2 separate regions of the Homo sapiens genome follow, and region 1 is linked to region 2. The links are contacts of gene promoters, found by promoter capture Hi-C in human tissues and cell types (Jung and others, 2019). All regions are on one chromosome and are shown on one strand. The core of a region is centred on a gene start or on the middle of the fragment in contact, and the rest is flanking DNA. Distances in the headings are between cores, read along the strand shown. Region 1 overlaps WWP2 (WW domain containing E3 ubiquitin protein ligase 2). Region 2 holds the start of COG8 (component of oligomeric golgi complex 8).

What was found. The method cuts DNA at HindIII sites, captures the fragments that hold promoters and counts their contacts. A contact is called where the count stands out against the background at its distance.
Region 1: a contact is called between a fragment that was not itself captured here and the fragment with the promoter of COG8 in region 2, in 2 of the 25 tissues and cell types used here (dorsolateral prefrontal cortex and lymphoblastoid cells).

What each region holds. Positions count from the first base shown.
Region 1 is chr16:69,857,145-69,863,839 of GRCh38, reverse strand. The region is part of intron 6 of WWP2 (WW domain containing E3 ubiquitin protein ligase 2); the gene reads right to left. Among named protein-coding and RNA genes, the nearest start is that of MIR140, 73 kb to the left of the region's middle. The HindIII fragment of the contact is 7,416 bases long and covers 225-6,695 here.
Region 2 is chr16:69,334,493-69,340,829 of GRCh38, reverse strand. COG8 (component of oligomeric golgi complex 8) reads left to right here and starts at 1,266. Exons shown (of 6, transcript NM_032382.5): 1 at 1,266-1,654; 2 at 4,118-4,325; 3 at 5,482-6,309. The coding sequence starts at 1,278. NIP7 (nucleolar pre-rRNA processing protein NIP7) reads right to left here and starts at 1,058. Exons shown (of 5, transcript NM_016101.5): 1 at 945-1,058; 2 at 738-824; 3 at 498-636. The coding sequence starts at 1,000. RefSeq lists enhancers at 680-759, 940-1,059 and silencers at 1,480-1,529, 1,540-1,589. The HindIII fragment of the contact is 18,932 bases long and covers 1-4,692 here.

The DNA of each region.
Region 1 (6,695 bases), core at 2,683-5,182, 520 kb before region 2:
AAGACACCAAAGGCTATACGTGTACATTTCCATTTTTAAGATATTCAAGAAGAGGTCAAACTTAGAGAAAGAATACAGATCCATGCTTGCCAGCAGCGACGGGTACAAGGAGGAGCTGGCTACAAAGGGGCACTGGGGAACTTTCTGGGGTGATGAAACTTTCTGTATCTTTTGTTTGTTTGTTTCTTTGTTTGTTTTTGAGACGGAGTTTCACTCTTTCACCCAGGCTGGAGTGAAGTGGCGCAATCTCGGCTCACTACAACCTCTGCCCCCACCAGGTTCAAGCAATTCTCCTGCCTCGGCCTCCCTTGTAGCTGGGATTACAGGCGCCTGCCACCTCGCCCAGCTAATTTTTGTGTTTTTAGTAAAGACGGGGTTTCACCATGTTGGCCAGGCTGGTCTTGAAGTCCTGACCTCAGGACTTCACCCGCCTCGGCCTCTCAAAGTGCAAGGATTACAGGCATGAGCCATCACGCCCAGCCTTTCTGTATCTTGATTATGATAGTGACTACCTGGCTGTATGCTTTTGTCAAAACTTACAGAACTATACACTAGTAAGGGTAAATTTTACTGTTTGTAAATTATAGTAACTTAATAATTTAAAAAAGCCATTTGTGGAGAAAATGTAAAAGTGAGCAAAAGTTGTAGAAGGCAGGTATGGCGTGAGGGTATGGTCAAAAAAACAGCAAGAATGTGGATGGGAATGTGATTCAGGCAAAATTCAAGACCCTACAAACATTTCTAAATTAATACATGTAGGATTCTATAAAGACTAGGGACATATCTCTCCCAAATGCCGAGAATTCATGGCTAGGCCGGGGGTGGCGGCTCACACCTGTAATCCCAGCACTTTAGGAGGCCAAGGGCGGAGGACTGCTTGAGCCCAAGAGTGCAAACCCAGCCTGGCAGCACAGGGAGACCTCGTCTCCATAAAAAATTATTTTAAATTAGCCAGGTATAGTGGCAAGTGCCTGTGATCCCAGCTATGCGGGAGGCTGAGGTGGGAGAATCATTTGAGCTGGGGAGGTCGAGGCCGCAGTGAGCTGTGATCACACTCACACCACTACACTCTATCCTGGGCAATAGAGCAAGAGACCCTGTTTCCAAAAAAAAAAAAAAAAAAAAAAAAAAGAATTCATGGCTGGCTGGATACCAGGTTCCAAGCATACTTTTCTATCTTGGTAAAAGAGGCCCAGAATATGAAAGGGAGGTTCATTGACCCCAGATTCAGGCCCACTGGTATTCAAGTTCAGCAAAAGAGAAGTTTCAAGGTATAAAAACTGATTACTGGCCAGGCATGGTGGCTCATGCCTGTAATCCCAGCACTTTGGAAGGCCGAGGTGGTTGGATTGCCTGAGGTCAGGAGTTCGAGACCAGCCTGGGGAATGGAGGCTGCAGTGAGCTGAGAGAGATCCTGCTGCTGCGCTCCAGCCTAGGTGACACAGCGAGACTCCATCTCAAAAAAACAAAACAAGGGCCAGGCGCGGTAGCTCACGCCTGTAATCCCAGCACTTTGGGAGGCCGAGGTGAGTGGATCACCTGAGGTCGGGACTTCCAGACCTGTCTGACCAACATGGAGAAATCCCGTGTCTACTAAAAATACAAAATTAGCCGGGCATGGTGGCGAATGCCTGTAATCCCAGCTACTCAGGAGGCTGAGGCAAGAGAATCACTTGAACCCTGGAGGCTGAGGTTGCAGTGTGCCGAGATCACACCATTGCACTCCAGCCGGGGCAACAAGAGCGAAAGTCTGTCTCAAAACAAACAAACAAAACAAAACAACCTGATTATTGATTTTCCTCCTATAAAACAGGCACAAAAAGTAAAATTACCTAATAAAACTCCTCTCACATTCCAATCCGGGTAAGCGGTATTTGCCTAGGATTACTAGAACCAAGAGGGCTCCCCACCTCAAGTCTGTCCTTCCTCTGAGCACACTCTTAACTGGTCATTGTCTTTTAATAGCTGCATGGAAAAAAAAATTCAGTGGAGCTGGGCCAGTTTCCAGCAAGACAGAACCAGAAAGAAACAGGCACTTAAAATAGAAGCATGAAAAAATAAAAAAGGAAGCCGTAATGGGAAAAGAAACAGTGTCCACCACCCAGAGAAGCGCCAATAAATAAACCTACTCCCACCTGCACCCCCCTCAATTCTTCCTCCCCACTCAAATGTGGATTAGAAAAAAAAAAAAAAAGGAGAGGGCGGGTAAAAGGAGAAGTGAACCGGGAAAGGCACAATTAGAGTTAAAATGGGCCCCTTCTGGTCACTGCAAGCGCAATTTACGGCTCCATTCCACACCCTACCTCTGGACTGCCAGCCTCACAAATGACAGGGAAGGTAAAAATAAAATCGCTGCCAAGTCCATTCTAAATTACAGAAAGACTTCCGGAAGACAAACAATTTCCTTTTGCGCACCCTAGAGTACAGAGCAACCTTCTCAAAGGTGGCAATTTCATTAGACTAAAAAAACTCACCTTGAGAGAGAAGGTATAGTAAATGGTGACTTGTCCAATCTACTTCCAGGCCGTATGTTGGGCTTAGCTGAGAAGAGTGCTCAAATGCCCTCCCAAACTTCAAAGAGAGCTAGAGAGTTCAGAGGGGAAGTGTTCACCTGCTCAACGTGGCCATTGATGGCTTGAGGTACCCTGAACAGAGACAGCAGCCTGTGATTTGTCCTATGACCTGAGATCCCCTGACCCTGAATTATGAGTGCATAGGACACTGTTGCCGCTTAGGAGATGAGCATCCCCATCAACCTCCACTGTGCACAGGAGGAATCTCCATGGGGCTGGCCCCCAAGGAATGCAGAGCACAACCTGTACAGGTGCGCCAGAAAAGCCTCTTCACTTTCTCGCTACTGGCATCATTCCCTGTTTGAATCTGGCCCACTCACTGCCTCCTTTTACTATAGCTCCAGACCAGAAAGGACTACACAGGACCTTGAATGAATGGGGGACTACAGTATATTAGAGTGTTCTTTCTTTCCTTTTTTTTTTTTTAACTAGAGATCGAGTCTTGCTATGTTGTCCTGGCTGGTCTCAAACTCCTGGCCTCAAGCAATCCTCCAGCCTCGGCCTCCCAAAGTGTTGGGATTAGAGGCATGAGCTGGGTAGAGCATTATTTCTAAGTGTTCTGACACGACAAATCACAAGGCAGGAATTCAGCAGGACGGAGGCAGGCTCCAAAAAGAATATGTTCAATGGACATCCCTCAAAATACCTCTCTAGACCCCTACCAAGGGAGAGTCAGACCCTTTGCTGATCTACTTGCCCGGCATTCTCTTCCTGGACTTTCCACCCAGGTGGCCAAATTCCTAGGCCAAATCTCAGTCCAAATGTCCCTCATCTCCCAGGCTACAGTAAATTTCCTTTCATTCTCTCATAACATCCTAATTGTTCCCTTTATGGCACTGCTATGTGTCACTACACATTCATGAGGGCAGAGATCATGTCTTGTTTTGTGAACCTCTGGAGACTCAGCACCTAGTGTGTGCCTGGCCCACAGTAGGATTCAGGAAATATCTGTTGAATGAAGGAAAGATGCAAGCTGTCAGGTTCAAAATCACTCTTGGGCCTGTAACCTCCAGTACTTTGCATATTCTTTCCAATCCAGTCACTCATCACCTCCCCGACTCCTTTAAAGAATGGAATCGGACCACCACGCCTGGCTAATTTTTTTGATTTTTTTTTATAGCGATGGGGGTCTTGAACTCCTAAGGTGAAGTGATCCTCCCACCTCGGCCTCCCAAAGTGCTGGGATTACAGGTCTGAGCCACCATGGCTGGCCCATTAGAGAGAGTCTTTCTACTGTGGGGAGAATTTCTAAAATGACATCCCTCTCACTCTAGCCCCCCTCCAATGCCTAAAACCTGTGAATATGACAAGGTGCCACACCCTTGAGTATGTCGTCAAGTATGTCGTCGTGTACCACAGCAGACCTTAAGAAAGGGGATCATCGGGCGGGGCGGGGGTGGGGGGCGGTGCTCTCTCAGTCTAATTAGCATCACATCACCTCCTGGAAGCAGAGCGCCTTCTCCAGCAGGTGGCAGGAGAGAAAATCAGAGAGATTCAAATCACAGGGAGATCTGACACTCCTTTCCTGGCTCGAAGGTGGAGGGGGCACCGTGAGAAGGAATGCAGGGGTCGGGGCCAGGGGGAAGCTTAAGGAGTTGAGAGGGACCCCCGCTGATGGTCAGCAAGGAATGGGCACCTCAGTCCTACAACTGCAAATAACTAAATTCAGCTAAGGACCTGAATGACTTTTTTTTTCTTTTTCTTTTTTTTTGAGACAGGGTCTCCCTCTGTCGCCCAGGCTGGAGTGCAGTGGTGCAATCACAGCTCACTGCATCCTCGACCTCCCTGGGCTCAAGCGATCCTCCCGCCTCAGCCTCCTGAGTAACCGGGATGACAGGCATGCGCCACCATGCCTAGCTAATTTCTGTATTTTTTTTGTTGAGATGGGGTTTGGCTATGTTGCTTAGGCTGGTCTCAAACTCCTGTACTCAAGCCATCTGCCCACCTCAGCCTGCCAAAGTGCTGGAATTACAGGCGTGAGCCACTGTGCCCAGCCCTGAATGACCTTTGATATGAATTCTTCCCCAGTGTATGCAGATAAGAATGTTGTCCTGCCAGAGCCTTGATTTTGGCCTTGTGAGACCCTGAAGGGAAAAGTCAGCCGTGTGATCCTGGACTTATGACCTACAGAACTGTGAGCTAATAAATGGTGTTGTTTTAAGCCCTGAGTTTGTGGTGATTTGTTACAGAGCAATAGAAAATGAATGCAAATAAATGACAATTCAATTTCCACAGTAGAAGATGGAACTCTCAAATACATGCATGACTAGGGAACAGCCTTGACCCAGTTCTTGCTGGTCTAGTTCAGCAGCCCTCATACAGTTATGGCATCACTCTGTGGGATCCAGTGCCCATGTCGAAGGAGCAGCATTCCAGTGATCCTAATGTCCTCAAGGAGACACTCAATCCTAAGATTCAATAATCACTTGGGAATTTGAACACCTAGTATAAATGAGATATTACCTATTCTTAGAGGGTAAGTAACATTCTTTTCTGGCAGAGTTGAAGTACACGGACTTTACACCTTCTTTTCCCAAACAAGACTTATTTATGTGTCAATTCTTCTCTGATTCCAATACTAACCTTAAAAGCTGCAAGGATTTGAAAAGAACAGTCGGTGAAAAGCATTCAACACAGAAATATCAATCATGAAGAAAAAAACAGATGAAGCCACAGAGACTGTGCAGGCAGTGGGACCCCAGCACACTCTTGGTGGTTCACCTTGCAAGCACAAGGCGGCTGTGATAAAGGGCGCCCCCTCTTCTCTGTGGTCCTCAAATTATCGCATCTCAGGAGTCAAGGCGCCAGGGAACGTAAACCAGCAACATGACCCACCCAGAAGTTTTGGCGAATGAAGAGCAGGAACACGAGACTCTTTCAGCTCAGCAAATATTTATTGAGCTGCTACTACGTGCAGTGAGGCACTATTCTAGGTCCTGCTGGGGACACAAAGATGAATGAGGCACACAGAGCCGTGGCCTGGTGTTTGAGTGAAAGCTTCAGCACCACTTCCCCCAAGCCCCTTCCTCCCCAAAAAAACCACAAACCAGGTGGAAGAAATAACTCCTCGGAAGTCTCCAATTCATCATCCTTTTTCTAAGTGTAAAGAAAAATGTATAACTTTATTTAAAAGAAAACTTTTTTTTTTTACTGGTTCTAAAGGTAAAATTTCAAAGAAAAGGAACAAAACCAACCGGGCCCTAATCTCCCATTCTCCACTACAAAATAATGAGTATCTGCACCACATCCTACTCTAGGTTTTCACTAATTTCATTAAATTTTCTTTGTGTCATTTTGTCGTTATAGAGTTGTACTGTTAGGCCGGATGCGGTAGCTTACGCCTATAATCCCAACACTTTGGGAGGCTGAGGAAAGAGGATCCAAGACCAGACTAGGCAACACAGGAAGACACTGTCACTACAAAAAAAAATTTAAAAATTAGCCAGGCATGGTGGCGCACACCTGTAGTCTCAGCTACCTGGGAGACTGAGGTGGGAAGATCACTTGAGCCTGGGAGGTCGAGGCTGCAGTGAGCTGTGATTGTGCCACTGCACTCCAGCCTGGGTGACAGAGCGAAACCCTGTCTCAAAAAAAAAAAAAAAAAAAAAAAAGAGTTGACCTTCAAAGGCCATTTGAAAACACAAAACACACAAAGTAGACCCAAAATATAGACATGCTGTATATAAAACTCAGCATAAGGCCAAACAGAAAACCTTCAGGCCGGGAGCCAGTCAATGAGCTCTTGCTCTCTTCACACCACTGGATGCAGAATTTCACACTCCATTATCAAATAGTCAGGGAGCCAAAGATACCTTCAACCCATCAAGACTTTTCTTGAAAAGGCAGACCAAACACAGTGGAAAGTGGAAAGTTACGCCAGGCGTGGTGGCTCACACCTGTAATCCCAGCACTTTGGGAGGCCAAGGCAGGTGGATCACGAGGTCAGGAGTTCGAGACCAGCCTGGCCAACAGGTGAAACCCCATCTCTACTAAAAATACAAAAACTAGCTGAGCGTGGTGGAGCGCGCCCAGCTACTCGGGAGGCTGAGGCAGGAGAATCGCTTGAACCCCAGAGGCAGAGGTTGCAATGAGCCGAGATGGCGCCACTGCACTCCAGCCTGA
Region 2 (6,337 bases), core at 17-2,516:
ACAAGAATCACTGGAAACTGGAAAGTGGAGGCTGCAGTGAGATCGCACCACTGCACTCTAGCCTGGGCGACAGAGTGAAACTGTGTCAGGAAGAAAGAGAAAGAGAAATGAAAAGAAAAAACAGAGCAAGAAAGAAAAAGAAAAAAATAGAAAAAGTTATTTTCTCAACTCTACAAGGATCATCCTCCATGGCCAGGTTAACAGCTCTTTTTCTGGACCCCGGTGTCTTCATTGCTGCCACTTATTTGCTTTCTGATCTCTAGCTGGGTCTCCCTAGGCTCTTCTACTTCGCTGGAGAAAACTAACCCTACGCAGCCACATAGCATTCCTATCCCATAGCCCTGACCATGCTCAAGCTGCAAGACCTCTACACATCTCCATGTGCTGAAACTCCTCCAAGCACACTGTCAGGGACTCTGTGGGAGAGAAGCTGCCGGACAATCTGCCTAATCCTTGACTTCATCGCCCGTGGCAGAATTGGAAACCGCCCCACAAACCTTGGCATAAGGTGCAAGGTAATCCAGAGCTGTGACGTGCAACCGAAACTTGTGGGTTTTAGTGAATTTTCCAAAGCAGGTCCCCAGCGACACCAGCTTGTCCCCGGAAATATTGGCGGCCAGCTTCATAATCTTCTCACTAAAAGGGTAAAGGGGGAGCAAGGTTGCGGATGAAGGAGGCTCGTGGGACCCAGGACCCCTCTCCCCTGGGTCCATGCTGCCTGCCCGGCCCCGCCTCACCTCACATAGTACACCCGGTCGTTGTGCAGACGGAAACAGTAGGTGCCATCGGGCCGGTCCACCAGCAGTTGAAGATTCTCCCCAATGCTGAGGGCAAAAAGAGGACTGGAGACCGCGCCCGAACGAACCGGTCTCCGGCACCGCGCCCCCACTCCACCCTTGGCCACCACACCCACACACTCCCGCGTCCGCCCCGCGCGCTCCTACTATTTCGCTATCTTCTCAAACATGACACGGGTCTCCTCTTCAGTCAAAGGCCGCATTTTTCCCCCTGGGTTGGAACACCGGATCCTCGTGCCTTGGTAACTGGAAACGGAAGTCGGTCGCTCGCTGCTCCCCGGCAATCCCAAAGCCTTCCTCTCTAGCCCCGTACCAATAGTTCGTCTCGCTAGCGCCCAATAGTCTGGACGACCGCAGGGGAAAGCAAGCCGGCCGGATGAGAAAGCATAGAGACCGGAAATGTGCCTGTTTCTTCCTGTCCTAAGTTCGGAGTCAGCGCCCCTTGTGGTCCGGAAGGGAAGTGACGTTGTTGCTGGGAAGATGGCGACCGCGGCGACTATCCCATCGGTAGCCACGGCCACAGCAGCGGCTCTCGGCGAGGTGGAGGATGAAGGGCTCCTGGCGTCGCTGTTCCGGGACCGCTTCCCCGAGGCCCAGTGGCGCGAGCGGCCCGATGTGGGCCGCTACCTCCGGGAGTTGAGCGGCTCGGGGCTGGAGCGGCTGCGGCGCGAGCCCGAGCGCCTGGCGGAGGAGCGGGCGCAGCTGCTGCAGCAGACGCGCGACTTGGCCTTCGCTAACTACAAGACCTTCATCCGCGGCGCCGAGTGCACCGAGCGCATCCACCGCCTGTTTGGCGACGTGGAGGCGTCGCTCGGCCGCCTGCTCGACCGTTTGCCCAGCTTCCAGCAGAGCTGCAGGTGCGACGCGCCTGGCGCTAAAGGGGTTTTATAACTGTAAAAGCTGACATTTACGATGGTAGAAATAACTAACACATAAAGCGTTTACCACGTTCCAGGTTCTCTGCTGAGCGCTTTATTAATCCATTTAAACCTCACAACAGCCTTCGAGATAGGTACTGTTATTCCTTTTTTATCTTTTTTGAGACGGAGTCTCGCCCTGTCGCCAGGCTGGAGTGCAGTGGCGAGATCTCGGCTCGCTGCAACCTACCTCTGCCTCCTGGGTTCAAGCGATTCTCCTGCCTCAGCCTCCTGAGTAGCAGGGACCATAGGCGCGCGCCACCACGCCCAGCTAATTTTTTTGGATTTTTAGTAGAGACGGGGTTTCAGCATGTTGGCTGGGATGGTCTCGATCTTTTGATGTCGTGATCTGTCCGCCTCGGCCTCCCAAAGCGCTGGGATTACAGGCATAATCCACTGCGCCCAGCCCTGTTATTTCCATTTTACATATGAGCAAGTCAAGACAGAGATTAGTGACGTCCAAGGACACAGCTAGGAGGTTTCGAATTCAGAACTGGTTACCCAGAAGCACGTCCCTCCCTCGAAGGGCAGTTGTGGGCACAAAGAAAAAGGATTCATGCAAAGCTCTTATTATCGGGTCTGACACAGTTAACATTATAGGTGTGAGCTGAATATATGTGCACATTTATATACTTATTTTATACGAAAGCGTGGACCGGAGGTCATCTGCTTCAAAACTTCCATTGACGGGAAGGTGACAAGGAAATCCTCGCATTTGAGGGCATCAGATATCAAAAAGTCTCTCCATTTGGATGGCTGGATGTGGTGGCTCAGCCTGTAATCCCAGCACTTTGGGAGCCTGAGGCTTGAACCCAGGAGTTCGAGAGCAGCCTGGCCAACATGGCAAAACCCTGTCTCTATAAAATAAAAAATTAGCTGGTCGTGGTGGCGTGCGCCTGTAGTCCCAGGTACACAGGAGGTTGAGGTGGGGGGGTCAGTTGGGCCCGGGAGATTGAGGCTGCAGTGAGCCATGATTGTGCCACCGCACTCCAGTTTGGGAGGTCGAGGCTGCGGTGGGCTGTGATTGTGCCACTGCATTCCAGACTGGGTGACAAAGTGAAACTCTCTTAAAAAAAGAAAAAAAGGCTGGGTGCGGTGGCTCACACCTGTAATCCCAGCACTTTGAGAGGCCAAGGCAGGCGGATCACGAGGTCAAGAGATCGAGGCCATCCTGGCTAACATGCTGAAACCCCCATGTCTACTAAAAATACAATTAGCTGGGCGTGGTGGCACGCGCTTGTAGTCCCAGCTACTCGGGAGGCTGAGGCAGGAGAATTACTTGAACCTGAGAAGCGGAGGTTGCAGTGAGCCAAGATGATGCGTGCCACTGCACTCCAGCCTGGTGACAGAGCAAGACTCCGTCTCAAAAAAAAAAAAAAAAGTCCTTTGTGAGTCATATTCTGTCTCCATTATCCCTAGTTCTGCCTTCCAGCCTTTCATGATTAAAGTTTAATTTTTCTTTTGAGCCTTTGGATATTTGACAGCAGCTTTTGTACCCTTCCATGCTCCAGAATAGATAGGGGACTTGATAAAGCAGGTCTCTGCAAATATGGAGAAGTGTTGAAAGTAGACTGTGGCAGGAACTATGGTTGAACATTAGCATAGGAGAAGATGAAGACCTGAGGGGAAAGATTGTGGATTCTAGGCAGTTAGTGCTTCATTTTGAAAATAATGATAGCTACTGTTAAATATTTAACTGTGTCTCTTTTACTATTTTTACTTTGACGCATTCGCTCTGTTTCAAGTTCTATGTTAAATGCTTCACACACATCATCTCATTTAGTTCTTACACCCTTATGAGGAGGGTCCTATATACTTTTTTTTTTTTTTTTTTTGAGACGGAGTCTTGCTTTGTTGGCCAGGCTGCAGTGCAGTGGCGCCATCTCTGCTCACCGCAACCTCCACCTCCTGGGTTCAAGTGATTCTCCTGCCTCAGCCTCCTGAGTAGCTGGGACTACAGGCGCGCACCACCATGCCTGGCTAATTTTTTGTATTTTTAGTAGAGATGGGGTTTCACTTGAACTCCTGGCCTCAAGTGATCCGCCCACCTCAGCCTCCCAAAGTGCTGGGATTACAGGCGTGAGCCACTGCGCCTGGCCCTATATACCGTTTTACTAATGAGGAAATAGGTTCAGAGAGGCCAAGTACCTTGCCACAGCCAGCAAGTGGCATATCTGGATCTCCATCTGTTAGATTTATTAATTGTATGTTTTTGGACAAGTTGCTTAACCTCTCTGGGATTAAAAATTTCCTCAATTGTAATAATACTTACCTTATAGGTGGGGTGTGAGGAATAAATCAGATAGATCATCCAGCCCAATGTTCATAGCAGGTACTTGGTAACTGTAGCTAAGGTTTGGGTACAGAGCAGTGAAGGATCAACATTCTTCTGATTATTACTAGGAACTTTGTGAAGGAAGCCGAGGAGATCAGCTCCAACCGCCGGATGAATAGCCTGACCCTAAACCGGCACACAGAAATTTTGGAAATACTGGAGATTCCTCAGCTCATGGACACCTGTGTCCGGAACAGTTATTATGAAGAGGCCCTGGAGCTTGCAGCCTACGTACGCCGACTGGAGAGGAAATACTCTTCCATCCCTGTCATCCAGGTAGCCACCTTGCCCAGAGAGGACTCAAAGTAATGTTCTTGTAATCATTTATTCTGTGGTCAGGACTGAAGCTTTAGGTAGAAACTCTTGCATGTTTCACATCAGTTTCTGCCAGCCAGGTATGCCTGAACAGAAAACATTCATTTATTCAAAATACATATTAATCATGTGCCAAGCACTGCTCTATATGCTGGGGATACAGTGTGAATAAAGTGGTCCTGGCTCTCATGCAGCTTACGTGCTAATGGGAAGTCTGATAATTGACAAAGAAATGATATCATTTCAGATAGTGGTGTCTGAAGAAAAAAACAGGGAATGGGGTAAGGGAGTCTAGGGTAGGTTTCTTTAGGTAGGGTGATCAAGAAGGACTCTTCTAGGGAGGTAACATTTAAGCTGAGACCTAAATGAGAAGGAGGTGCCAGCCCACAAAGATCTGGGGAGAGAGCAAACCAGAAAGTGTGAAGAACAAGTAGAGAGGGCTGAAGTGGGCAGAAATTGAGGTGTTTAAGGGATACAGAGGCAGCCAGGGTTAATGGATTGTAGCAGCGGGAGAGCACTAGGAAGCAGGTGAAGATGGAGAGCCAGGTAGGGCCACCAGTGTAAGTCCCAACAAGTGGTTGGAATTTTCTTGATTGCAGTGGGAAGTCACTGGAGGATTTTAAGCTTTTTTTTTTTTCTTTTTTTTTTTTGAGACAGAGTCTCGCTCTGTCCCCCAGGCTGGAGTGCAGTGGTGCGACCTTGGCTCACTGCAACCTTTATCTCCCGGGTTCAAGTGATTCTCCTGCCTCTGCCTCCCGAGTAACCGGGATTACAGGCCTGCACCACCACACCCACCTGATTTTTATATTTTTAGTAGAGACGAGGTTTCACATGTTGGCCAGATTGGTCTCAAACTCCTGACCTCAAGTGACCTGCCTGCCCACGGTGCTGGGATTACAGGTTTGAGCCACTGCACCTGGCCAGGTTTTAAGCTTTTTAAGCAAGAGAGTTAACTAACCTGATCTTTGTTGGTGAACCTACAGGCATCAGCTTTAGGAAATTACTTCACATTTCAGGAAAGCCATGGGAATGTTGGTCTGCAGTCTTCAGAGTTAGGGGAATGGGTTCTAGAGAGCATCCTTCCCAGCGCAGTGTGACTCTCTCTGTGTATTGTCAGGGCATCGTGAACGAAGTGCGCCAGTCCATGCAGCTGATGCTGAGCCAGCTGATCCAGCAACTGAGGACCAACATCCAGCTTCCTGCCTGCCTCCGTGTCATTGGCTACCTGCGGCGCATGGACGTCTTCACTGAGGCTGAGTTGAGGGTGAAGTTTCTTCAGGCCCGAGATGCTTGGCTCCGGTCCATCCTGACTGCCATTCCTAATGATGATCCCTATTTCCATATTACAAAAACCATCGAGGCCTCCCGTGTCCATCTCTTTGATATCATCACCCAGTACCGTGCCATCTTCTCAGACGAGGACCCACTGCTGCCCCCTGCCATGGGTGAGCACACTGTGAATGAGAGTGCCATCTTCCATGGCTGGGTGCTACAGAAGGTCTCACAATTCCTGCAGGTGCTGGAGACCGACCTTTACCGGGGCATAGGCGGCCACCTGGACTCTCTGCTGGGCCAGTGCATGTACTTTGGGCTGTCCTTCAGCCGGGTGGGAGCTGATTTCCGGGGTCAGTTGGCTCCTGTTTTCCAGCGGGTGGCCATCAGCACTTTCCAGAAAGCAATTCAGGAAACAGTGGAGAAATTCCAGGAAGAAATGAACTCCTACATGCTCATCTCGGCTCCAGCCATCCTGGGCACCAGTAACATGCCTGCTGCTGTGCCAGCCACCCAGCCGGGGACGCTGCAGCCACCCATGGTGCTCCTAGATTTCCCACCCCTCGCCTGCTTTCTCAACAATATTCTGGTTGCCTTCAATGATCTGCGCCTCTGCTGCCCTGTGGCCCTGGCGCAGGATGTGACTGGGGCCTTGGAAGATGCCCTTGCCAAGGTGAGCACATTCTGTTGGTTTTCTGCTA